Regions from separate parts of the Homo sapiens genome. Here all the other regions are linked to region 4. Evidence: promoter capture Hi-C in 16 types of primary human blood cells and fetal thymus (Javierre and others, 2016). All regions are on one chromosome and are shown on one strand. The core of a region is centred on a gene start or on the middle of the fragment in contact, and the rest is flanking DNA. Distances in the headings are between cores, read along the strand shown. Region 1 overlaps ABCA13 (ATP binding cassette subfamily A member 13). Region 2 holds the start of ABCA13 (ATP binding cassette subfamily A member 13). Region 3 has its middle 39 kb from the start of ABCA13. Region 4 holds the start of PKD1L1 (polycystin 1 like 1, transient receptor potential channel interacting).

Region 1 (2,842 bases), core at 222-2,721, 240 kb after region 4:
GTTAACTGCTAATAGGTTTACCAGACGGTTATTTTTCTTGAGAGGAGAGCCTGTGGCAGCATCTGTGCCAGCGCATTTGGACAGCAGAAGTGCCAGTTTCTGCTTCTGATTGGGTCACTTTCTGGTGTTAAGAAGTCAGCAATGGAAGGTCTGAGATGTGCGAGATACGGTGAAGCCCTAGCATTAATCAGACAGCATTCCTATTTAACAGGGGTAAGATTCAAAATGTTAAGCAAGATTCGAGGATAATAATGACATATAAGAAGAAAAACGTGATTAAAAATGTGATGAGAAAGGGAAGGCTGCCTTTGCACCCCTGCAGAGAAATAGTCTTATGAAAGCCACTCACACACAATGGAAAATGACACAGCAGAACTGGTGTCTGGCTACTTTTCTCTTGAATGGAGCAACTTCAAATTCAGAACAATGAAAGATATTTTTTCACTTGTGATTTTCAGAAGGGTCAGTGACCACCTTGTAAATAAAACACTCTGAGATGTTGTTTTTTAGGTTTAATTGGAATTCTGTTATTATTTCAAGATGCTTAGAGAAACTTCTCAACGATAAGATTCAAGGTTTTATTTTCTTCCAATAATATTTTCATTTGAAACTAGAGATCGGATGTGGATTTTTAAGACTGGACTGAAAAATATTTGTGATTTTAGAGTTACTACTATTTTAATTTGGCTTTGGCAGGGTCCTTTAAATGATGTTGTCTTCATGTGAAGGGAACAATATCCAGATACTATAAATAAAAGGATTGATAAATTAATGGCATGAAAGATTTAGACAATAAAAAGGCAAATACAAAGTTGGAGAAAGTATTTGTAATACCATAAGCCATGAAAAGGCTGAATTCTTTAATTAAAAAATTAAATACAAAATGATGCTTTGTAAGTCTGTAAAAATAAAGAACAACTTAATAGAAAAATAGGCAACTGGAAGAACAGAGAGTTAATATGCAAGGAATTATTATATGCTTAACTTGTGAAAAATGCTTGATCTTAATAACTAAAGTTATCATTATGTTTTTGCATATCAGCTTGACAAAAAATTAAGTTTGTTAATCCTAGGTGCTATTGAGAGTGCAATCAGAGTAAATGATAATTGGTTTAGTTTTTAATGAGGGCATTTTCACTACATCTATCCAAATTAAAAATCCACATTAAAAATCATATACACTTCAGTGCAGTAATCCCATTTGGCAATGGTACCTCACGGATCTACTTACAAAAGTCAGCCAAATATGTAAAAAAAACCTCATGAAGTTAAAAGCTGGGATTCATTGAACTGCATCTACTTGATTTCATAATGTGCATTGGTTTTAGTATGTTGCTGTCTTGTTATCTGTAATCAACTATAATAGAGTAATATATTTGGTGTTTTGGACCAAAATTCATGCTACACATATGTCTGACTTTGATGGCCTTTACCTTTTCAAGAAAACTGTTGCAAATTTGAGCAAAATTTTCCCAGTTGTAATATTTCAATAGTGTCATGTAATAGAAAAAATTTAGAAACACTCCTAAGAGAGTTTTCAATTTCAAGCAGAAATGCTTCTCTTCTAAGTAAGTACCACTTTAATTGATAAAAGAAAAACAACCTCATGATATCACTGGCCCCAAATAGAAAAACATGCAAATTTTCATGATGAAGTGATTGGTTAAATAAATTAAATCCTACGGTGGAATATTATGTAGCCTTTAAAAGTAGCAAGGTAGAACTATAAGTGCTGTTATGGAAAATTGGTTCTAACACATTAGTTATACATATACATGTATTTTGTAAATAGATAGTTTATCCTATAGGAGAGTGGTTATAATCTTTCTGTACTTTTAAAATTTCTTAACCATACATATGTTTATTTACATATTTATAATGTCAAAAGTTATATGAGTCTTGGTTCTATAAACCATTTTCTGTTTTTTATACAACTACTTGTCTTAAAAAATAGCTATTGTATGTTATTAAAAATGAAACAGAATAAAAAACCCAAGAAAATTATGTGTTTATTATTCTTAATGCTATCAAGTTATCATTTAATATGAGGTATATTTTTTATTTTGCTTACTTATATTCAGTCAGAATTAATGATGGAATCTTCCCCCACCACCTCCCTACCCCAATACTCCAGTAACTTATTAATTTATTACAAAGAATGACCAAAATGACTTAAATAAGTAGTTATCTCCTGAGCGTCCTTGACCTTTCTTTATAGTTTAATTGTGGTCCCTTGAACCAGAGGGTGATCTGCAGGCATTTTCTTTGTTATCAGAATGTGTGAAACTAGGTTTCAGGACTGTGTCAGAGAACTTTTTAATCATGATGCACTTTTTGTCACAAGAAATACTTCCTCGTGGAATATTTCAAAGACGGTGATTTATTTTTAATTTTTTAATTTGAGACGGAGTCTCGCTCTGTTGCCAGGCTGGCGTGCAGTGTGGTGCAGTCTCGACTCACTGCAACCTCCACCTCCCGGGTTCAAGTGATTCTCCTGTCTCAGCTTTCTGAGTAGCTGGAATTACAGGTGTGTGCCACCATGCCTGGCTAATTTTTTTTTGTATTTTTGGTAGAGATGCAGTTTCACCGTGTTGGCCAGGCTGGTCTGGAACTCCTGACCTCAAGTGATCCGTCTGCCTCGGCCTCCCAGAGTGTTGGGATTACAGGTGTGAGCCACCGTGCCCGGCCAAAGAGGGTGATTTCTTTTCTTCTTTAATTATACCAGGGATGGAAAAACTCTTTTACACCTGTGTTTTGTCTTCATGGCTTTAGGCCACTCATCTGGTCACATTTAGATCTGCTTACAAGGAAGGATTACTGCAATGGGATATGACCATGGCAG
Region 2 (2,807 bases), core at 105-2,604, 220 kb after region 4:
TCAATCAATCGATCAATGAATCACCCATTGGTTCTGTTTATCTGAAAATCCTAACACAGCATTGTTCCATGAAAGCAATGGATGAGATAATTTTTGTGTCTCTGACATAATTCTGGCATAGCAGCATAAAAACTGGCTGCTATGAACATAACATGAGAAAAACCTTATGGTTGGAGGCTTTTTCTTATACTAGATTTTTAAAAATTATGACAATTACTTGTAAGGTGTTCTAGATGTTATCTGCAAAGAGAACCAGAGTAGCAATACTTAGGCAACCCCAAAGACCTTTGAGAAGTCACAGGTCAAGGGGGAACATCATATGGGGATCAGGCAAATCCACTTATGGTTGCTGGGCGCCATCCTGCTAAGTAATGGCCTTCACTCTAGTGCTGCCAGCCATGTAACAAAAAATAAAATAAAATAGGCATGCTCTAAACAAATAAGTTTACAAAATAATTGAGTCAGTTTCTTTGCTGAAGCCTGTGTTCCCTGTTTCCTATTGCAAAAGCCATTTATCAAGCATTCACAGCTTGTGAAAATTGCTTTATGAAATAGAAGACCACAAGACTGGGTTGCCTGAAATCCTTCTGACCACAACTGGGGGCAACAGGAACTCAAGAGGGCCTGGCTTCCAAGACGATGGAGCCACCAGCTGGCAAGCTGAATCCATCATGCCACTTAGAAAGTGCAAGTGTTCAGGAATCAAACAGGACTCAGAGGTAATCCACAGGCCACTTGCTGAGTCCTGCCACATCTGCACCCGATACCATTTGAAACGTAGATCCTGATCCCTTTGGAGGAAATGGGTGAAGGAGAAGTATGAAGTGCAGGTGCAGTAGCAGAGTGGAACTTGAGTCACCCATTCCCCAAACTCCCCCAGACACCAACACTGCTTCCATCTCCTTCCCTTCAAACTCTCTGCCATGGGACCACCAAAATTGAAATATTTTGGCAAATTTGTGTAATAACCAATGCTTCAGAAGAAAAAAGGAAAATTCCATCTAATTAATATCCAGAAAAAAAGGGAGGTAAATGGTAAATGTGGGCATTACTTCTTGTCGCACAGATCAGTTCTGTGGGTTCTCGGAAAGGGAGGGCACCCTCTCTGTGTATGTGTGTATGCCCGAGAAAGTCCCTGAAGGCAGCTTTCTGTAATTCAACCCTCCTGAAACACTGAACAGCTAGTGAAAAGATTTCTCAGCAGATGCCGAACAAGAGGGGACATCTGATGCCTGTTTTATTCAGTCACCAGTAATCTCTCTTGCATCACTCACTTTTGTTAGAATTGACTAATAGGCAACATGCCTTCACTTGAGCCCAGCAGATATAAGCACCATCCTTACAGGCTGGCTTCCTGACTGAGAGCAGGGAGCAGCAGGCATGGGGCATGCCGGGTGCCAGTTCAAAGCCCTGCTGTGGAAGAATTGGCTCTGCAGACTCAGGAACCCGGTGAGTGCTTGCCTTGGTTTTCCATAGGGTTCCAGTGAGGTCTGGAGCAAGATCAGGGTCTATTCTTTCCTGCCTGCCTCTGCCTCCTGGCAGGTAAAAACACTCATGCTGCAGGGAATTTGGGGAGGTTGGATTATTTTAAATCAAAACCCGTCCCAAGGGCCAAAGTAGCTGAACACTTTAATGACCAGGATGAAATCAAGGCTGAAGAATTTATCAGAAAAGGGCAAATTTAGAAAAATTCTAAAAACAAACAAACAAAAAAGCAGGTGGAATTGAACTATAATTTGTGTTCTAAGCATTCGTTGTAAAAACTGAACAGTGAATTCTCAGGTTTAAGGAACAAAGCATTTGCTGCATTTAATGCATAAGCAGAATGCTACAGGTACTGACTCCGAAGCACAAGACTGCACAGTGTGCCTCACCAGAGCAGGGTATGACACATCCACTCTGTTATTCTGTAGGGTCACCATCTTTAGTGTTAATTCACATCTATTTAGAACTGTATTCAAATTACATTAGCAAGGTTTTCCTAAGGAGATTGGAATTGTTCAAATGAAACTTGTGTGAATACTTATGCAAATATCCTGTAAGTGTACGTTTTTGTGAAATAGAAATCAATTGCTTGTTATTATGACTAACTTTATTCCTGATGCCACTATATAAACATTAATACCTATAAATGTCATTTTCAGGAGAAGTAGATGTGCAGTAATTTACCTGCATCGTTTCTGATTTTAAGGTCTACAGTTAACCTATGGGAATTTTCTGCTGACAAATGCTTTGGTTTGAAGAGATTCAGTAATTGACATTGAATTACATTTTGCTGAATCCTCCGAGCCAGAATATTCTATCTCTCTGTCTTGAAATAAAATACAAGTTAAAGGAGATGTTTTCTTTTTTATGTGATCTTTAGGATCAAAATAATTTCAGTTGAAAGTTTGTACAAAAGTTTTAAGTTGGCCGGGCGCGGTGGCTCACGCCTGTAATCCCAGCACTTTGGGAGGCCGAGGCGGGCGGATCACGAGGTCAGGAGATCGAGACCATCCTGGCTAACACAGTGAAACCCCGTCTCTACTAAAAAAACACAAAAAAATTAGCCGGGTGTGGTGGCGGACGTCTGTAGTCCCAGCTACGCGGGAGGCTGAGGCAGGAGAATGGCGTGAACCCGGGAGGCGGAGCTTGCAGTGAGCCGAGATCGCGCCACTGCACTCCAGCCTGGGCGACAGAGCGAGACTCCGTCTCAAAAAAAAAAAAAAAAAAAAAAAAAAAAAAAAAAAAAAGTTTTAAGTTCAGGAATAAAGGAGTGAGACAGTCTTCATTGATTGTTAGTGTGTTCGTGTCTGTGTAGGTAGTTT
Region 3 (2,862 bases), core at 28-2,527, 180 kb after region 4:
ATGTCAATCAGTACTGTGTGATATACTGATGTGGTTAGACATTTCCTTGGTTATCCATCACATATCTCTAGTGCTATTGAGCCATGTATCTTTGGTGTGATTCTTTCATTCCCAACTTAAATCTGACCAAAAGAGGAGGTAAGCCAGCTAAAACAGTTCCGAATTTGTATTATATCATCCCCAAATTCAGTTGCTTTATCTCTCAGTTGGGTCAGTGCCAGCATTAAAGCTAATAAATTGGTCTCTTTTACTGAAATGCTCTTCCCATGTGCTTTGCTTTGTATAGTATTATTAACAGGCCAGTGACGCACGTCATCCTTTGTCATGCTAGTATGAAGCAGTGATCACTGTTCTTGAGAAACATGGATATATTTCTGACATTCTATCTAATCTTGTCTTTGGAAAGGAGATATCCACCATGGCAGGCAGAACCACTGGAGAAGGGCATGAGGCCACATACCCAACAAGTGTTTTTCTGTAATCTGCTAGCATGGTCCTGAGCCCACTGAAAGAAGAGGTTTGCTATGGGCAATAACTGTTGATAGTGGCAAGAAAGCCCAAGAACTAGGGACATAAAAACAAAAAAAGAAATTTAGTGGGAACTTCAAAGAAAGATATTCTCCATCTACTAACAATTATTAATGTTTAGCATTTATATAGATACAGGATTAGTCCAGTGTCTTAGGAAAGCTGTTTATCTCAGATGTTGTCTTTTTCTCATTCTTGTTGGTTCTGGAGAATTTTTTTAGATCACCAGTTTGAGACAAAGTTCAAATTGGTGAAGTGGCTTTCTTTTTTTCTTCTTCTTCTTCTTTTTTTTTTTTTTGAGATGGAGTTTCGCTCTTGTTGCCCAGGCTGGGGTGCAATGGTGCGATCTTGCCTCACCGCAACCTCTGCCTCCCGGATTCAAGCAATTCTCCTGCCTCAGTCTCCTGAATAGCTGGGATTACAGGCATGTGCTACCACGCCCAGCTAATTTTTTTGTATTTTTTAGTAGAGACGGGGTTTCTCCATGATAATCAGGCTGGTCTCGAATTCCTGACCTCAGGTGATCCACCCACCTCAGCCTCCCAAAATACTGGGATTACAGGCGTGAGCCACCGTGCCCGGTCAAAGTGGCTTTCTTTAAATGGGTGACATGAGTCAATTCCTTTTAGCTTAGTGGCATGAGGATTGGTTGGGAGCACCTGATAATTCCCTTTCATCTTGGCTGGAGGAAGTCTTTTAAAAGATCTTATTTCCAACAGACAAAATCTCCTGGTTGAAGTCCATGGTCCTAGAATTTTTCATCCTACAGGAGGTCACTGTGGAAAGAGTCTTTTACTAAATTATAGTTTCTAGTTGGCTGCCTTATAAAGCTGTTGCAATTATTCAACATATTCTTTTAATACCATAGATTCACAGTTTTCTGGAAATAATTTCATAGGTCTGCCTGTTATAATTTCAAATGGAGACAGTTGGTATTTACCAAAAGGGGTTGAGTTTAGGCAAAGTAAAACCAATGGAAAAGGTTTCAGACAAGGAATTCTACAAAGCTCAGCAAATTTTTGCCAATTGAGTTTTGATTATTCTATTTGTGTTGAGAGTTAAACTCTGACCTTTTTTCTTCTGTTGTCCAAATTCCTACCTAAAAGGTTTGGGGAGTCATGCACTACACACCATAAAGTCTCCTCAGAAGGGCTTATTTAACATAGCCTGCTTTCCATCCTGACTCTGGCATAACATTACATGACAGATAATGAAAGAAATCAAAATATTTTAACTCCAAATGTATTTCCTTGCCATATTTTGAAATTATCCTGCAAAGTCATCTCTTGAAAAACCTATGTTCTGTAGAGAATCCCCTTTTCCTTTCCAGGCATTTTTCCTGATCCAGGAGAGAATCAGCTAAGAGTCTGGCACCTTTTTAAGTCTGATAAGAATCATTTACAATCTATTGTCTTTGAAACCCACTACCTGGGGGATTCATTTGCATAATAAGAACCTTGGTCGGCTGGCCACAGTGGCTCACTTTGGGAGGCTGAGGTGGGTGGATCACCTGATGTCAGGAGTTCAAGACCAGTCTGACCAATATGGTGAAACCCCATCTCTACTAAAAATACAAAAATTAGATGGGCGTGGTGGCACACGCCTGTGATCCCAGCTACTTGGGAGGCTGAGACAGGAGAATCACTTAAACCTGGGAGGCTGAGGTTGCAGTGAGCCGAGATTGAACCACTGCACTCCAGCATGGGTGACAGAGTAAGACTCCATCTGAAAAAAAAAAAAAAAGGAAACTTGGTCTCCACAACCCCTTATCTTAACCCAGACATTTCCTTTCGATTGGTCCTAGGTTTTTCAATAAAGTCTTTTAACCAATTGCTAATCAGAAAATATTTAAATCTACCAATAACCTGGAAGCCCCGCACACCCACCTTGAGTGGTCCCGCCTTTTTGGACCAAAGAAATGTACATCTTAAATGTATTTGATTGAAGTCTCATGTCTCCTAAAAATGTATAAAAACTAAGCTGCACCCCAACTGTTAATGGTGGAGGGTCTCCAGGTACTTGACATCTTGAACAAAGAATTGGACAAAATGCACAAACAAATCAAGAAAGGAATGAAGGGTTTTATTGAAAATGAAAGTACAGTCCACAGTGTGGGAGCAGGCCTGAGCATAGGGGCTCAAAGGCCCTGTTACAAAATTTTGGGGAGTTTCAATATCCTTTGCTTTGGGTATGCCCTATGTAAATGAAGAGGATGAAGTAAAGTTACAAAGTCATTTACTTGGACTACACTCTATGGAGAGGCTATTTCCTGTCACAGCTGAAGTGTGAATCGGCCTTATGTTCACTGCCTCCAGACCCTATTTTCCTGCCTCA
Region 4 (3,052 bases), core at 41-2,540:
CCCCGTCAACACGTGCAGCCTCATTTTCTCATCCTGGTTTGCTTTGGGTTTCTTTGATAAAATGATGGTGATGGCACAAAGACAGTAAGCTAACAAAGGCAGAAATGCTGACAGCAAGCATTCATCAAGGATACTGATTTTTATAACGACCCTCTGGAGTTTACAGATGTGACAACAGGGGTACTCAGATTTTCAGGATGAGAAATCTGGGGGTGAGGAGGTAAAGTGACCTGCAGTGGCGGGGTACCCCACTGGGCAAGATCTGCAGGCACAGGCTCCCATCATGCCAGGCCAGGGGACAGCGGTGACCCACCTGGGTCCTTACCACATCCCACAGGCAGGTCACCTTGCTGGCCTCACGCCCAGGAAAGGGGGCATGGAGGTTTGCACCATGTCACACTGCCATGAGACAGTCAACAGCAGAGCACACAGGCTGCCCAGCCTCAACAACACATGGGTGCTGGCGCGCACAGAGCATGGGGAAGAGGGTTTAGAAATAAGACCCATGGAGGCTGGGTGCGGTGGCTTATGCCTGTAATCCCAGTACTTTGGGAGGCCAAGGCGGGCAGATCACAAGGTCAGGAGATCGAGACCATCCTGGCTAACACAGTGAAACCCCGTCTCTACTAAAAATACAAAAAATTAGTCGGGCGTGGTGGTGGGCGCCTGTGGTCCCAGCTACTTGGGAGGCTGAGGCAGGATAAATGGCATGAACCCAGGAGGCAGAGCTTGCAGTGAGCCAAGATCGCACCTCTGCACTCGAGCCTGGGCAACAGAGAGAGACTCCGTCTCAAAAAAAAAGAAATAAGACCCCTGGGCCAAGACCCCATGATCTCTTCCTGTGCCAGGTTTCTCCTGGTCTCCATGCAAGGGACCTAGCAGACAAGCAGATAGCTTAACTTTGTCTACTACCAGGCAGCAGAAAGTCCTCGAACTTGGAAGGTATCCTGCATTTGCAGGAAGAGCAATCAGCACTTCTCATGGCTGAAGGCATCCGCTTGGAGGAGTCTTCTCAAAAGCCTTCAGGAAAAAACTCCATTCTCAACACCAACTCCAACCTCTGAACTGACCCCGCCGGCCAAATGCACCCTCCTGGTACAGGGCCTCCACTCGTGCCAGAGTGAGCCCACATCCTAGAGGTGATGACTTTTGAAAGAAAATTTCTGAATGCATACTTTAAAATCAAGCTTACCAAACCCTCTGAGAACAGTGATAACTCACCTTTCCTGGTCATCAGAAATGTTCTGGGCTGCCTCCTCGGCCATGTCCTGTGCAAGCTGGTCACAAGTATGACAGTCAGCAGACCAGCTTCTTCCTACATCCTCTGGAAGACAAAGAAATAGAGCTTAATGCTTCCAGCTTCTGTACTTGTGACCTCTTATCAGGACACACATCAAACACAGAGGGAAAAATCCAAACTCCAGTAACATTTTCCCAAGCAGAAACAGCTTTTGTTTTCCTAACACTGTCAGACAAATTCCTTCCTAAGAAGTGTGCTTTTGACAGACGTGGTGGCTCATGTCTGTAATCCCAGCAATTTGGGAGGCCAAGGTGGGTGGATCACTTGAGGCCAGAAGTTTGAGACCAGCCTGGCCAATATGGTGAAACCCCGTCTCTACTAAAAATACAAAAATAGCCAAGTGTGGTGGCACACATCTGTAATCCCAGTTACCCAGGAGGCTCAGGCGAGAGAATTGCTTGAACCTAGGAGGTGGAGGTTGCAGTGAGACGAGATTGCACCACTGTGCAATAGAGTGAGACTCTGCCTCAAAAACAAAATGAAACAAAACAAAACAAAACAAAAGTGTGTTTTAGGTAGGGATCTTTGTGGCTGCCTGAAACAGATCACTACTCAAGGGAGAGACTGTACATGGAAGCTGAGAGAAGTCTGAGAATAAAAAGCTGTAACTGTTGGCTGGGCGCGGTGGCTCACGCCTATAATCCCAACACTTTGGGAGGTCGAGGTGGGCGGATCACGAGGTCAGGAGCTCGAGACCAGCCTGGCCAGCATAGTGAAACCCCGTCTCTACTAAAAATACAAAAATTAGCCAGGCATGGTGGCACGCACCTGTAGTCCCAGCTACTCGGGAGGCTGAGGCAGGAGAATTGCTCGAAACCGAGAGGCGGAGGTTGCAGTGAGCCGAGATCGTGCCACCACACTCCAGCCTGGGCAACAGAGCGAGGCTCTGTCTCAAAAAAAAAAAAAAAAAAAAAAAGCTGTAACTGTCCACAACTGCACTGGGGAACAGGATACCTTCCACAAGAGCAGAAGAGCATTCCTAAGGAAGGCTGGCAAGGCACACACTAGGCGCACTCTGTCTTACGGCAGAACCTAGGAATGATCTGGTTCCGAACCTCCTGCACCTCTCCTTGTTTGCAACTGGCGGGTCAGACTGAGTTCTCTCCATTACGAAACATTTTCTCTTATATTTTTAAAGCACTTGTTAGTTGTCTTAGTTCTTTATACCAACATTTAAACCTTCAGAGATTTTAGAAAACTTAATGTTTTACTCAGAACACTAGATATTTTTTCTCTCCACTCTGAAGAGAGTGATACCAAGAAGAGTGGGAACGTTTTCAGGCACAAGCTCTTTCTCAGATGGGAACACAGACCCCTTGAACAATGATGAACCAAGCTACGGGTGTCCGGCCTTGGATCCTGTGTTTTCTGGAACTTTGCTGCCAATGAGGTGAGTAACCAGAGCCCTGTGGTGGGTTAAGGGGCCTGCTGTTGACCTAACACACCTGTCTCCTGGGGCCTGCTGCCACCTCTGCTCTTCTCACACTGCCTTGTCAGTGCCTCTGGCTTTGTCCCCACTGTGCTTGTTGTGAGTAAATCTCAGATTTGGGGGAAATGCATACTTTCCAATTTCATTAGCAATACACTTTCAAATGCGCCTGTGACCAAGAAAAGGATAAACTGCAAACTGCAGTTTGTAAACGAACAAAATCCCTTCTTTCTGAAGCCCCTGTGATTTGCTCTGACACCTTCCTGTCAAATCTAAACAGAGTCCACTGGGTAAAGACACCTGTGCAACCCTGCCTGCTGGGC

Evidence for each region. Contacts are between HindIII fragments. The CHiCAGO score rates a contact against its expected background, and 5 or more counts as called.
Region 1: a fragment that was not itself captured here is called in contact with the fragment with the promoter of PKD1L1 in region 4 in 1 of 17 cell types (neutrophils); the score reaches 5.3 in neutrophils.
Region 2: a contact is called between the fragment with the promoter of ABCA13 here and the fragment with the promoter of PKD1L1 in region 4, in 7 of 17 cell types (non-activated CD4 T cells, activated CD4 T cells, M1 macrophages and 4 more). The highest score is 7.8, in non-activated CD4 T cells.
Region 3: a contact is called between a fragment that was not itself captured here and the fragment with the promoter of PKD1L1 in region 4, in 12 of 17 cell types (activated CD4 T cells, M1 macrophages, naive CD4 T cells and 9 more). The highest score is 13.6, in activated CD4 T cells.

Annotation. Positions count from the first base shown.
Region 1 is chr7:48,189,020-48,191,861 of GRCh38, forward strand. The region is part of intron 1 of ABCA13 (ATP binding cassette subfamily A member 13); the gene reads left to right. Among named protein-coding and RNA genes, the nearest start is that of ABCA13, 19 kb to the left of the region's middle. The HindIII fragment of the contact is 8,687 bases long and covers 1-2,842 here.
Region 2 is chr7:48,170,104-48,172,910 of GRCh38, forward strand. It overlaps ABCA13 (ATP binding cassette subfamily A member 13), which reads left to right and starts at 1,355. Exons shown (of 62, transcript NM_152701.5): 1 at 1,355-1,449. The coding sequence starts at 1,381. The HindIII fragment of the contact is 8,502 bases long and covers 1-2,807 here.
Region 3 is chr7:48,131,450-48,134,311 of GRCh38, forward strand. No RefSeq gene overlaps it. Among named protein-coding and RNA genes, the nearest start is that of ABCA13, 39 kb to the right of the region's middle. RefSeq lists an enhancer at 1,625-2,232. The HindIII fragment of the contact is 3,537 bases long and covers 1-2,862 here.
Region 4 is chr7:47,947,176-47,950,227 of GRCh38, forward strand. PKD1L1 (polycystin 1 like 1, transient receptor potential channel interacting) reads right to left here and starts at 1,291. Exons shown (of 57, transcript NM_138295.5): 1 at 1,222-1,291. The coding sequence starts at 1,265. The HindIII fragment of the contact is 5,981 bases long and covers 1,186-3,052 here.